Linked DNA regions of Homo sapiens: all the other regions are linked to region 5. Evidence: promoter capture Hi-C in 16 types of primary human blood cells and fetal thymus (Javierre and others, 2016). All regions are on one chromosome and are shown on one strand. The core of a region is centred on a gene start or on the middle of the fragment in contact, and the rest is flanking DNA. Distances in the headings are between cores, read along the strand shown.

Region 1 (2,700 bases), core at 50-2,549, 800 kb before region 5:
CGCACCTCAGACTCTCAGACTCTGAATTTTAATCAGGTTCCTTGGGTAATTATTAGGTACAGCAATCTTAGGGAACTACTACCCTGAGAGAAATTAAGACCCGTGAGGAGGGAATATCTACATTTATGACCATTGCCATAGGCCAACAAAATCACCCAGAGATGCTTTTCCATGTACTCTTGCCTATGCAGTTCTCATCCCTTAACTATTCTAATTTAACTGGCTTGGAACAGGGCCCCTCTTTGTGTAGGCTGGGAAGAGAACATGCTTTACTTATGTGACAAGTTTCTCTAGTCCCATCTAAAATATACCCTAAAATTAAGAGAAAAAGCTCTTACTTTCCTAAAATTAAGAGGAAAAGGCTCTTATTAATTTTTCCTAAGGAAAATTTATTTCACATCTGAAAAATTAATGATTTGAATGAGTTAAAGTCTGGGTATTGCCTTAACAGATACTATATGACTTTTATCCATATATTCCACTGATTAATTCTTACCAGTTCTAGAAGTTATCTCCACCAATCTTTCCTGCTAGTGTCAAAATTATTTTGTTTCTCATACAACAAAAAAAGCCCCTTTAAAATGAAGGAGATAAGCTGACCCTCATAGGAAAGGTCCAGGGCCTCATAATGCTATAATAATATCAGAACAGTATATCTGATCAAAACAGTATTTGGCTTCTGAACAAAACAAAATCTTCTGTTTACATTTCAAATTGTAGAACTGTTTGGACGCAATTATCTTCCAGCCCAACATTTTCTTTTTCCTTTTTTTAATATCTATAAGCTGTTCACATTTGAAGTCGTAATGATGAAATGGGGATAGGGTACAGGGATAATGATTCATCAGTTTATTTACATGTTTTTTAGGGATCCAATGTTCCAAAATATTGTTTTTCAACCAATCAAGAAGGCTATTAGAATTACTTATTAATAAAACTTGTCCTATATTGTAATTTGGGATAGTAAGTAGAGTAGTACATATATATACAATATGGGAGGGGACATGTTCAATGTTTTTTAATTGATAAAGGTATAAAACAAAATTAGCTGGTGGCACAGTAGATGGTACTTGTACACGGTACAGGGTAGCTGTAATCCCAGCTACTTGGGAGGCTGAGGCGGGAGAATCACTTGAACCCAGGAGGCGGAGGTTGCAGTGAGCCAAGATGGCACCATTGCACTCCAGCCTGGACAACAGAGTGAAACTCTGTCTCCAAAAAAAAAAAAAAAAGAAAAAGAAAAAAATATTTGGAGAGTGCTGATCTAAAACTCAGGATCTATATTCCACTTGCTCAATGGACACTCCTTTGGAAAAGTATAAATTTGCCACAACCACCTGGACAGTGTACTTGGGAGACAACTTTGGGATTAGCTTAATGGAAAGGTTAGTACTCATGAAGGTAAGGCTATCACATTGGTGACGCCCTCAAAATCAAAGAGAAAAAAAAGAAAAAAAAAAAAAAGGAAGTTTGGTTTTTCCCTTTTCTATTGTCTAAGTATTAGGTTGGCTTTTATACTTTTTACACTGACTTTTTTTTTTTTTAAACTGTTAAGTTCAGGGATCCAACTGCAGGTTTGTTACATAGGTAAACTTGTGTGTTGGGGGTTTGTTGTACAGATTATTTCATCACCCAGGTATTAAGCCTAGTACCCATTAGTTACTTTTCCTGATCCTCTCCCTCCCCCTGCCCTCTACCCTCTGAAAGACCCTAGTGTGTGTTGTTCCCCTTTATGTGTCCACGTGTTCTCATCATTTAGCTCCCACATGTAAGAGAACATGTGGTTTTTGGTTTTCTGTTCCTGTGTTAGTTTGCTAAGGACAATGGCCTCCAACTCCATCCATGTCCCTGCAAAGGATATGATCTCATTTTTTTATGGCTGCATTCGTATTCCATGGTGTATATATACCACATTTTCTTTATCGAATCTATCATCGATGGGCATTTAGGTTGATTCCACATCTCTGCTACCAAAATATTTTTCTTTGTAATTTTTATTTCTGTATCTCTTACTATCGCAGATTTATCTTTAACTCTTAAAGTTCATTGTAGAAGAGAAAATAGTGAAAGTGAGTCAAGGAAAGCCTTTATAGCACCAAGCAAGTTTTTAAGTATCTCCACACAACACTAGAATTTCTCCTTTCCCCACATCCACCAAGAAATAAATGTCTTTATTAATACATTTTTATACCTATAATGGGAAAGCAATGTATTTGATAGCAGTGGTTCTCAACTTTTCTTTACAACACAGTTATCTCTGTAGTGCCTGGCACAGAGTACATAATCATAATAATAGCTTATATGTATTAAACAATCAATAATCTGTTAATTTTCTGGTACATATTCTGTAACTAATAAGCGATGTGATCCTTCTTCATTTAAATACACTCCTTGTTAGATTATGGCATTAGACTAAATGAAAAAGTCCCATTCAGATAAAAGTCTATTATGCCCTCCCTACATATTATTATAGTATAGAATAATCTAAAGTTTTACAAACTAGTCTGGGAAATCCAATCCTTCCTTTTTTTAAAAAGGCCGAGAGAAGGAAACTGTACGTTTGAATAATGTATGCATTTCCTAGATCAAATGTGCCAGTTACTCAGGAAGTGAAATACAGAGGTGCCAAGACTCTTGCCCTCTGCTACTGAAAGAGCAGCCACTGATTGCTATGTGTGATACAAAAGAAATTTAAGAACT
Region 2 (2,700 bases), core at 108-2,607, 660 kb before region 5:
ATGTTAAAAATGTCCAAAAAAACAAGTAAATATACAAAACTTTGATTTAAAACTTGTCGAGATTAGGGATGGCTTTAAACGCATGGCCTACAGGAAAGCAGAAATACACTTTTGAAATTGAAAATCCTTGTAAAGCTGCGCATGGTGGCTCATGCCTGTAATCCCAAAACTTTGGGACGCTGAGACAGGTGGATGGCTTGAGCTCAGAAGTTGAGACCAGCCCGGGCAACATGGTGAAACCCCGTCTCTACAAAAAATACAAAAATTAGCCAGGGGTGGTAGCAAGCGCCTATAGTCCCAGCTACCTGGGAGGCTGAGGTGGGAGAACGGCTTGAGCCTAGGAGGCAGAGGTTGCAGTGAGCTGAGATCGCGCTGCTGCACTCCAGCCTGGGCGACAGAGCCAGACCTTGTCTCAAAAACAAACAAACAAACAAACAAAAAACACAAAACACAAAAAACAAACAAAACCAATAACAACAAAAACAAGAAAGAAAATCCTTGTAAATGGAACCACTTTGCACATTCTACAATCTGAACATGTGAGTTTCTGCTGCCCTCTGTTGGTTCACTCAGGCTGAGCAGATAAGGTTTCAAATTAAAAGTAGGAATTTGAAAACAGGTTTTAATTTTATAACATCTTTGGCATAATGGTGAAATAGGCTCCCACAGTAACATTCTTTGTTATAATATCACTGATGGTCTGTAGGTTAAGTCATATCTTCCGTAGACAAAAGAGGCTCTTCCAGGCTAAATGAAGCTAGGAAAAGGAGCACATTTCTTTATACAATGGCTATCAGAGCATCCAAGGAATTATGAAAGGTCCTAAGGCGTTTCATGTTACAGATACATTCTGAGGACTATTTTACTTAAATGTTCTCTCTCTGAAAATTTTCTACATGATAGAAATCTAATCTCTTTTATGCTTATAGATAGGGGCTTAAAATGTTTTCAAAGTTTAACATTTTTCTGCCTGCTTCCATTTCTTTACATTTCCATTTTGAGATATACTTGACCTAAAAAACAAACAAAGATCCAAAAGCCATGAGATTTGTAAATCTTAAAGAAATAGGTTATTTTCTAAAGGAATCTGTGCCAAAAAATAGAGAACTGAACAGAATGATCAGAAGATAATTTTAAAGTTAAAAAAAAGATGCACAATAAATTATTTTAAAATTTATCAAGATTCACCATGACTTTATATAACCCCAAATCACAAAAAATTTGAATTTGAAAATCATCGTGAACTGAACCTGCTTTGCTCTTTCTATAATCTGAACATGTGAGTTTCTGCTCACGTTGGGACAAGGGTGGGAGTGGGGAAGTTGTAGACTGATGATGAGTAGGATTTGGCTGAGAAGCACTAGTTCCAGTAGCCTGGCCTTTCCTCTTCCCCCTCCCCTCAACCAGCCCAAATCTGGCAAGGACCAGAGGCAGCTTTGTATTTTTTGATTTGGTATTTGCTTGGGTGACTCAAGGCATTTTGGCCTCTAGAGCACAATACTTCTGGTTATGAGAGGTATTCGGCTGCTAACTTCGACCAATTTCCTGTAAGGAAAAAGCAGGTGCTCCAGAAAGATCTAGTGACAGCTAACACTTGATGATCATCTTAGGATTTGGAATGTGCTTTGATAGGATTTGGAATGTGCTTTGATATATATTATCTAATCTGACTTTCACACCAACCCTATGAAGTAGATATTAGTCTTATTTTATAGGTGAAGAAACTTCCTAGAGAGGTTAAGTGATTGGTCGTTTAGAAAAGCTGAGACTTGAGCCCAGGTCTTTCAGATTTCAAACCAGGTGGTCACATGAGAAGTCCAAAAAATTTTGGCTATTTTTCCAGAAAAAGGAAAGGAAACAATTTGTTATTCTTACCAGGTAGTGCAAAGATTATTTTTCTTACACCATCAATATCCAAAGTTGCAAATGTTGTTGGCAAGCTAGAAGAAAAAAAGAGTCACTTGTTAGTGATTGCTAAGCAATATGATGAATACATTAAGTACTCCAGTGTTTTTGTAATCCATACACTTATCATATAAAAAACACTTTTCTGTTGACTTGCCTTTACATCTTTATACTCTGAAGTATTCCACAGACACTTAAATAAGTTTGTTTTTAGTATTTCCTGTTTTCAAGTAACCACACTTTCTGGTTTAAAGAAAACTACTTACTTTTTTTTTTTTTCTTGCCAGTGCCATAGAAATGTACTCCAAATCTTGGAGTTTCCAAGTTTTCCCACCCCTCTAGTTAATAATGTTTATACTACTTTTGCTGGCGATTTACAACAATCATTCTTAAAAGCAGAAGACTGGCCAGGCATGGTGGCTCACACCTGTAATCCCAACACTTTGGGAGGCTGAGGGGGGTGGATCACTTGAGGTCAGGAGTTTGAGACCAGCCTGGCCAACATGGTGAAACCCTGTCTCTACTAAAAATACAAAAATTTGCCAGGCATGGTGGTGTGCGCCTGTAATCCCAGCTACTCGGGAGGCTGAGGCAGGAGAATCGCTTGAACCTGGGAGGCAGAGGTTGCAGTGAGCTGAGATGGCCACTGCACGCCAGCCTGGGCGACAGAGCAAGACTCCATCTCAAAAAAAAAGAAAGCAGATTACCTGATAATATGTCTATCAGACAGTTGCCTATTGTTCAAAATGAGTATTTTTTAACCTTTTTCTTTCAATCCTGCTCCTTCTGTATTAG
Region 3 (2,700 bases), core at 115-2,614, 720 kb before region 5:
GGAGGCTGAAGCAGGAGAATCTCTTGAACCCAGGAGGCAGAGGTTGCAGTGAGCCAAGATTGTGCCACTGCACTCCAGCCTGGTGACAGAGCGAGACTCCGTCTCAAAAAAACAAAACAAAAAAAACTAGCTGGTTGTGGTGGTGCTTGTCTGTAATCCCAGCTACCCAGGAGGCTGAGGCATGAGAACCACTTGAACCCAGGAGGCAGAGGTTGCAGTGAGCCAAGATTGCGCCACTGCACTCCAGCCTGGGCGACAGAGCAAGATTCAGTCTCAAAAAAATAAAAATAAAAATAAATAAACAAGTAAATAAACAAAATGCTCAAGTGCTAAGCTGGCTTTGGTGGCAGAGTGACAGAAGGGTGGACAGAAGAGTGAGCACCTTGATTCCATCAGCAAGGCCCTGCCAAGATGGGCAAGGGGTTACTGCCCAGGCCACCCGTGGTCCACCAACCTCCCCCCTTCAATACTGTGAACTCAGCCCTTATGAGCATGCACGCGCATGCGCACGCGCGCGCGCGCACACACACACACACACACACACACACACACACACACTCACAGCATTAGCTTTATGAAGGAGGCAACAGAAGACACAATGGCCCTAAAATTGCATTGCTTCCACTCTTTCTGTGCTACTGGGTGTTGTTATCATGGCTGAGAGAAGTTTCATTTTTCAGCAACGCACTGCAGAGCTGGTGTTTCGAACAAACTTAGAATACAGTAGGCCAGGGCCACCCTATACAGCTGTGCAGATTATGAATTGCACATAAACTACAGTGTGTATGGTGTGTACAAGCTACATAACTGTACATGACAGCCCTGCAGGCACTCTACGAATATCTGTATCATTTTGCTATGAAAAAAAAGAGGTCTTGATTGTATTGGCTGATCTAAAAAGCAGGTTGGGAAAGAGCATGATAAGGTTACAAAGAAGTACAGAAATGAGAAGAATCGCTATGGTAGTGCAGCACATAATTCTCTTCCAGTGCCTCACCTGAAGCCCTCTCTCCTCCTCCCTGTGCTGATGTTATCTTTTGACCCATGATGGATTCTAGAGCAGAAACCACAACAAACCCCTAACATTTCATTCCACTTATATTGTTACTACAGTAGAATAAGATTTAATGTTAAAAGATCCCACTTATTAACAACTTTTTTGTGTGACAGTATCATAGCTATCATGTATTCCTATAGAGACTTATAATTAAAAAGTTACCTTTAGTTTGTCTTACATGTTTTTCCATCAACTTTGTCTTTTTCTGTTTTACTTTTCTTTCCTCACATTCATTCCCTTGAGAAAGGGGCAGACAGATGAGGCACAAGTTTGAGGAAATTAGAAGGAGATTTGATATGAGGGGAGAGAACTAGAGGGAAAAAAGAAAAAGAATAAGGAAAGTAAAGGAGAGATCAATAGAGAGGAAGTGAGAAAGAAAAAAAGCCAAAAGCAGGAGGAAAAAAAAGGCACAGAAGGAGAAAGAGCTTATTTTGAATATTAAATTCAGATTATGTTCTAACCACCTCATCAAAAATGTATTTATTCTTTGCAATGGAGCTTATTGTTGAATTTCACAAGCAGGTTCCCTTTTAGAGGGCTCCCTCCTTTTTTATTAAGCCTGGGTTTTATAAACAAAGAATGAACCTGGCTGCTTAGGATTCCAAGGAATTTGGTTTGTAATATTTAAGAGGAACATGGAAAAGAAAGATGGGTAAGGGTAGGAAGGAAACTCCCAATATTTTATGTGATTTTTCTTTCTCTTCTTTTCTTGAATCTCTATCCTTTGTCTCTTTTCATCTTGGAAAAAATATCAAAGAATCAGAGATAAGCCCATAATTTGGGCTCACTGTAAAAAAAAAAATTTAAAAGTTAAGGAGAATAAAGCCTAGAAAGGTAAAAACTTAAAGCTAAGAAAGTAGAGAAATGGGGCCGGGCACAGTGGCTCATGTCTGTAATCCTGGCACTTTGGGAGGCTGAGGTGGGCGGATCATGAGGTCAGGAGATTGAGACCATCCTGGCTAACACAATGAAACCCCATCTCTACTAAAAATACAAAAACAATTAGCTAGGCATAGTGGCACGCATCTGTAGTCCCAGCTACTCGGGAGACTGAGGCAAGAGAATCGCTTGAACCTGGGAGGCGGAGGTTGCAGTGAGCTGAGATCGTGCCACTGCGCTCCAGCCTGGGCGACAGAGTAAGACTCTGTCTCAAAAAAAAAAAAAAAAAGAAAAGAGAGAAATGAACTCAGATCCAGAGAGACAAATTTAACCTGGACCCTATTTCATGCATAAAGTTGTCATAAAAACAGTGCATTTGAAGTGCCACTTTATCCCAAAACCTTATGCAGAAAAGGAGAAAAAAAATTTAACTTTCGCAAACTGCTGAGAGGTTTGAGAGATGAATTTGAGATCATGGTCCCTAACTAGCATTGCTGGGTGAATGTGAATCAGATGAGCTTAATAATGCCAGGAATTTGTTTTACTACTATGGGGAGCAGTTATTATTCTGATTTCCGCCTATAATATAAATTAGAATTACGGACTCATTTTTAATTTGTACTCCAATTACATTTAATAAAATGAGGTATTAAGATTCAGCCAGTCTTTGCTTTTCTTGGGGTACAGGGTGTTAAGTGAGAGTAAAAGTGTATGGAAGGGGAACAGGTGATTTAGAGGAGAGTGAAAATGGGGAAAGAAATGCT
Region 4 (2,700 bases), core at 96-2,595, 680 kb before region 5:
GTCCAGCACAATTCTAGGTTGCAGTTCTGGTTGCACCTTTGCAGGAGTCTAACTGTTGTGGCTTCTATCTCTTGAAAATGATATCCCCATGCCCAACCTTTCAGCTTTGAAGAGAAAGCCTTGTGTTCTGAATCTTTGAAATATTTGAGTAATTAAAAAGGGCTGTTTCCCCCAAAATTTACTCAATTCTCAGTCTTTGAGAATTTTTTCTTATGGAAGAAAAAATTGGGATAACAGTCTGAAAAATCAAAATTTCAAAACAGGCCGGGCACAACGGCTCACGCCTGTAATCCCAGAACTTTGGGAGGCCAAGGCAGGTGGATCTCTTGAGGTCAGGAGTTCGAGACCAGCCTGGCCAAATGGCGAAACCCTGTCTCTACTAATATTACAAAAATTAGCCAGGCATGGTGGTGTGTACCTGTAGTCCCAGCTACTTGGGAGGCTGAGGCACGAGAATGGCTTGAACCTGGGAGGTGGAGGTTGCAGTGGGTCGAGATCGTGCCACTGCACTCCAGCCTGGGCAACAGAGTGAAACTGTGTCTCAAAAAAAAAAAAAAGAAAAGAACAAAAGGCTGGGCACAGTGGCTCACGCCTGTAATCCCAGCATTTTGGGAGGCTGAGGCAGGTAGATCACCTGAGGTCAGGAGTTAAAGACCAGCCTGGCCAACATGTGAAACCCTGTCTCTACAAAAATACAAAAAAAAAAAAAAAAAAAATTAGCTGGGCATGATGGGCGATGCCTATAACCCTGTCTCTACTTAAAAAAAAAATACAAAATTAGCTGGGCGTGATGGCACACACTTGTAATCCCAGCTACTCGGGAGGCTGAGGCAGGAGAATCACTTGAACCCAGGAGGCAGAGGTTGTGGTGAGCCAAGATCGTGCCATTGCACTCCAGCCTGGGTGACAAAGCGAGACTCTGTCTCAAAAAAAAAAAAAAAAAAAAATTAAAAAAAATCCAGAAAACATGCTTTCATTTCAAACTCAAACTCTCAATGAAATTATTTCTAAGAAAAAGAAAAGCAGTCACCAGGTGTTAAGTCTCTCGGCTTTTCAGCTTGTTCTGGTTGAGGTAGAAGAAATGAAACTAGAAGGAGAAGAGGAAGATGGAAAAAAATAGACATTCTGCCCTCGAATTACCAGAATTAATTGAACTATTCATTTCCTTCTCCTTCAGTTTCAAACCCAAGTTGCAGTAATGAGACAGTCACTTACCAACAGGTGGGGCTGAAATAGATCTCTGGAGATCTCCTGGATGTCGACTAGGAAAATAACCTCCAAATAGCACGTTTCCACTCTTTTCACATTTCTTTAGCAGGTGTTTATGTCTACTCAGCAGGCAACTAACCACTTAGTAAAAGAAGCACAGGCCAGGCTGCTCTGGGCATTGTTCTGTTGCTGCTGCATCATAATCATAACGTGCTGACATAGTCTCTGCAGTAAGAGAAGAACGGCACTGGGGAGGAGCAGCCGTGCAGGTCTGCCCCTGAGAGGAAGTGTGGTCAGCATTCCCATGGAGCCCTGACCGGACCGCTCAGGAGTGGGCATTCAGGTGGTGGTGTGAAGTTTTCAGAGGATTTCTTGGAGAGAAAAGTCAATTTAGCAATAGTATAACCACGGGAAAAATATCAGACTTTACATCATTGATCATACAATTGATAATTTATTATTCACTTTCCCTATATCCCAAGTTTCAGAGACTTAAACATATTTAAGGCACTTTGAGCCTCTGTGAAGAAAAGCGTTAAAAGAATATAGCATTTTTAGAGGGAAACTGCTTAGAAACAGAGCTGAGGCCGGGCGCAGTGGCTCATGCCTGCAATCCCAGCACTTTGGAAGAGCAAGGCAGGAGGATTGTTTGAGCCCAAGAGTTTGAGACCAACCTGGGCAACACAGTGATACCCCATTTCTATTGAAAGAAAGAAAAAGAAAGAAAAAGAAAGAAAAGAAAGAAAGAAAGAAAAAGAAAAAGAAAGGAAGAAGGAAGGAAGGAAGGAAGGAAGGAAGGAAAAGAAACTGAGCCGAGGGCTGTATAGCATGAATATTTAATGATATTAGGCTCTGGTGGTGGTTCAATGCACTTGATTGGCTGAGTCTCTTTCTGCACTTGTCCGAGTGGTTCCCCTGTTATTGTCTCAGATGCTCTGTTTCGCCTATTCTATGTTGAGTGCCATCTTTTGGATGGACAAATTCTTCCTCTGGTCATACCTATAGTCCCACTGAGTAAGATTTCTTCATTGAGCATACTTATTGCATGATCACAACTTGCCATGTTCCTGTTCTTCCTGCCCAAGGGCCAGAAAATATTTTTGCATAGATCTGATCTCATCTCTTAACTGTTGATGATATCAATTTAATTCTGCGGTACCTTGATTAAACTTTGGTATTATCTCACGTCCATTTTTTGAGGCTACTGATACATTAAAAAGAGAAGAAATACCAAAAGAAGGAAATAAAAATAATGGTATATTTAAAATATTTACCTTCAAAAGCGTCTTTAAAATGCTTTTAAAGATGCACAAAATATAAAACTGTATGTATAACTTCATTTGGAGATTGTAAGTCTGAATTTGTGGCACTTTGTCAAAGTGAGGTCCGTGAGCAATTAGCCCTCTTTGTCCCTCATGAGATGGGCCTGCCTATTCACGCCTGCATGGGATCTTCTCAGCTGCATGTCCTAAGCTTGGGATATGAAGCTTT
Region 5 (2,710 bases), core at 77-2,576:
TCAGACATGCAGAACACACACGGCTTTCGCGAGGGAGGGAAACGCGACCCGGGAAAAGTGCGCTCCTCACCAGCCTCGGGACGCTCTACCGGGGTGGGGGTTCCCAGAAAGGAGGGGGAGAGGAGCCCGAGTAGGGGAATCCTGCCCTCTCAAGTAAAAAGCTGGATCCCCGGCAGCAGGCTGCAGCCCGTCCTCGCTAAGGAAACGACGAGGCAGACAGAGGGCCTTTTGCGCGGAAAGGCAGAAGGCAGACACTTTCCGAGGTCCGGACGCAAGCCGATCCCCCATCCCCCGAGGGAGGCGAAGGGTGCCCCATGGGTGGCTGAGGGGACGCCCGGCCCGCGAGGGACAACCCGAGGAGGAGCAGTTTCATCTGATTAACACCTGAGTCTCGTCCAGGCAAGCACAGATACTGGCGTGGGGCCGCCCAGGTGGGGGGAAGGGAAGGAGAGGAAGGGGGTGGAGATGGGATTCCCCCCTCTCTCTGAAGAGCACTAGCGGAGGATGCGCCCAGGCCAGCCGAGAGCGGCATGCTTCAGACTGCGGAGCCGGGATCCCGCCGCCTGCACCGACAGCGCGGAGCCCCGCAGCGCCCTCCGCACCGGCCCCTCGGTCCCCGGGGGCCCAGGACTTTGCTTCCGAAGGCGCTGGGGCCTAACATCCCACGGGGTCGACCCCGGCTCCTGGGGCCTGGGGGAGGGGACCCGCGGGAACACCCCCAATCTCCGGCGGTTCTCAGCGGTTGTAAAATGCACCCCCGCGGTTCCCTTCTTCAGCCTTCCCTCCTCCCGAGGCCGCAGAGAAGGGCCACCACAGGCGAAAAGCCTAAGGCAATGCAGGGACAGCAGCCTCATAGGTCCCAGACCTCCTCCCCCGGTTACCTGTAAGGACTCCGACACGGATTTGATGGTCGTGGTTAGTAAGGATCATTCCCTCGGTCGCCATGTTTCCCAGCGCAGTCACCGCACTGACAGGAGCCGGGAGAAACCGGAGCCCGGAGCGCGCGGGCCGGGAGCGCGCTCGCCGAGGAGAGCGCGACAGCTAGGGAGCCAGAGAAGCGCGAGGAGAGCGGGGAAGGAGGGGGAGGCCACAGAGTGCACGGTGGCCTGCGTGGGGGAGAGGCCGCGCCGGGAGTGCGCGGGTCCGCGGGAGGGGAAGGAGTCAGGGCGCGCGGCCCCAAGTCCGGCAAGAAGGAGGCAAGCTTGGGGGGCGCGGTGGCCGCACGGGGAGAGCGCGCGGAGGCGGCAGAACGAGGCCGGAGAGTGTCGGAACGCTCTGCGGAGCGCGAGACCCAAGGCAGCTAGATGGCAGGACTGAGAGGAAAGGATAGCACACGCTCTGGAGGTTGCGGGGGCGGACTCGGGGACAAGGGCGGAGCTACACCCCTAGGCGTGGAACTCGTGGAGAGTGAGGGGAGGAGTGAGAGCTCGGGTGCTGAGTATTGGGAGCGGGAAGGAGCCGGCCCAGCCTGAGTAGGACCGCGGATCGCTCCTGGGCGCGCGAGTAGCACCGGATTGGCTGAGTGAACGCGGAGCGTGTGCGCGCGAGGCACGAACGCAACCTCGGCCGGGCCCCAGACAGAAGCAATCCCCTGCCGAGCCTGACACCTCGTTGGTTGTCCGCGCCTTAGGCTGGCTCTCGCCGGCGGGCCGGCTTTCTACGCGGGGGCAGCGAGGCTGGCTCAGCACCCCGGGCCTCCTCTTGCAACCCTCGGGAATGGCCGGCCGCCCCACTGAAAGCGCTGGGGAACCGAGAGGTGTCTTAGAAAGCTGCATGAGTGGCAGAACGGTGGCTACTATGACAGAGAGGCCGCCGTGGGCGAAGAGGGAGGTATCCTGTCCTGCCTCGTGCTAGCCGCTGGCTTCCTCAGTGGGCTCTCCCTGAAGGAGGATTTCCGCTTCACCTATGCTTTAGGATTCCATCTCCAGTCAGTGCCTGCAAGACGATCCTCACGTGCGAAACTGAGGAGTCTGAGGCAGGGCAGCTGGAGTGGAGATACCTGGCTTCTCTTCCTCCTGCTGTCCCACGGTTTTGTGGCCTTAAGCCTCTTCGCCATGAGCGCTGCTTTTAGATGAAAAGCATCAATCTCCTTAGCGAACGAGAACGTGTTCCACCTGAACCACAGTCCATTGCCGCGGCGATTTTCATTTCAGTATTCGTGGGATGTGAGATTACCATGAAAGTAGCTTTTGTTGCCATTTATTTCCATGTGCCTTTCATGAAACGTGTTATTAATCACCTGTGGCTATTCTACGTTAGTTTCTTACTATCGTTCTGGACCTTTCAACTTCTGAATTTTAAAAAGTTATATGCGTGTGTGTGTGTGTACACACACTCATATGTATATGTTTTCTCTTCTTAGCTGTAGTAACCTGGAGGCATAAAAGTGAAAAGCAAAGTATTAAAAGATGTATATCAGTGTTTATACACAAATTTCAAAGTCACTTTGATAGGTTTTTTTTTGGTTTTGGTTTTGGTTTTTTTTGATCCGGAGTCTCGCTCTGTCGCCAGGCTCCAGTGCAGTGGCGCGATCTCGGCTCACTTGCAACCTCTGCCTCCCAGGTTCAAGCGATTCTCCTGCGTCAGCCTCCCGAGTAGCTGGAACTACAGGCGCGTGCCACGACACCCAGCTAATTTTTGTATTATTAGTAGAGACGGGGTTTCACCATGTTGGCCAGGATAGTCTCGATCAAGATCTTGACCTCGTGAC

Evidence for each region. Contacts are between HindIII fragments. The CHiCAGO score rates a contact against its expected background, and 5 or more counts as called.
Region 1: a fragment that was not itself captured here is called in contact with the fragment with the promoter of GPHN in region 5 in 2 of 17 cell types (naive B cells and total B cells); the score reaches 6.7 in naive B cells.
Region 2: a contact is called between a fragment that was not itself captured here and the fragment with the promoter of GPHN in region 5, in 4 of 17 cell types (M2 macrophages, M1 macrophages, M0 macrophages and 1 more). The highest score is 8.5, in M2 macrophages.
Region 3: a contact is called between a fragment that was not itself captured here and the fragment with the promoter of GPHN in region 5, in 10 of 17 cell types (total B cells, naive B cells, M1 macrophages and 7 more). The highest score is 9.3, in total B cells.
Region 4: the fragment with the promoter of GARIN2 here is called in contact with the fragment with the promoter of GPHN in region 5 in 10 of 17 cell types (M0 macrophages, naive CD8 T cells, monocytes and 7 more); the score reaches 11.8 in M0 macrophages.

The regions. Positions count from the first base shown.
Region 1 is chr14:67,307,079-67,309,778 of GRCh38, reverse strand. All of the region lies in intron 8 of PALS1 (protein associated with LIN7 1, MAGUK p55 family member), which reads right to left. It also overlaps a transcript of GPHN not described here. Among named protein-coding and RNA genes, the nearest start is that of ATP6V1D, 51 kb to the left of the region's middle. The HindIII fragment of the contact is 7,273 bases long and covers 1-2,700 here.
Region 2 is chr14:67,164,402-67,167,101 of GRCh38, reverse strand. GPHN (gephyrin) reads right to left here. Exons shown (of 23, transcript NM_020806.5): 20 at 1,876-1,940. All of the region lies in intron 1 of LOC105370538 (a long non-coding RNA gene), which reads left to right. Among named protein-coding and RNA genes, the nearest start is that of GARIN2, 24 kb to the left of the region's middle. The HindIII fragment of the contact is 5,581 bases long and covers 1-2,700 here.
Region 3 is chr14:67,223,785-67,226,484 of GRCh38, reverse strand. GARIN2 (golgi associated RAB2 interactor family member 2) reads right to left here. Exons shown (of 8, transcript NM_001395907.1): 8 at 2,545-2,700. The coding sequence ends at 2,668. It also overlaps a transcript of GPHN not described here. Among named protein-coding and RNA genes, the nearest start is that of PALS1, 16 kb to the left of the region's middle. The HindIII fragment of the contact is 7,967 bases long and covers 1-2,700 here.
Region 4 is chr14:67,188,085-67,190,784 of GRCh38, reverse strand. GARIN2 (golgi associated RAB2 interactor family member 2) reads right to left here and starts at 1,345. Exons shown (of 8, transcript NM_001395907.1): 1 at 1,216-1,345. It overlaps LOC105370538 (a long non-coding RNA gene), which reads left to right and starts at 1,421. Exons shown (of 5, transcript XR_007064215.1): 1 at 1,421-1,552. It also overlaps a transcript of GPHN not described here. The HindIII fragment of the contact is 22,924 bases long and covers 1-2,684 here.
Region 5 is chr14:66,506,763-66,509,472 of GRCh38, reverse strand. It overlaps GPHN (gephyrin), which reads right to left and starts at 1,326. Exons shown (of 23, transcript NM_020806.5): 1 at 882-1,326. The coding sequence starts at 945. RefSeq lists enhancers at 42-91, 342-501 and silencers at 592-741, 1,092-1,281. The HindIII fragment of the contact is 4,318 bases long and covers 1,204-2,710 here.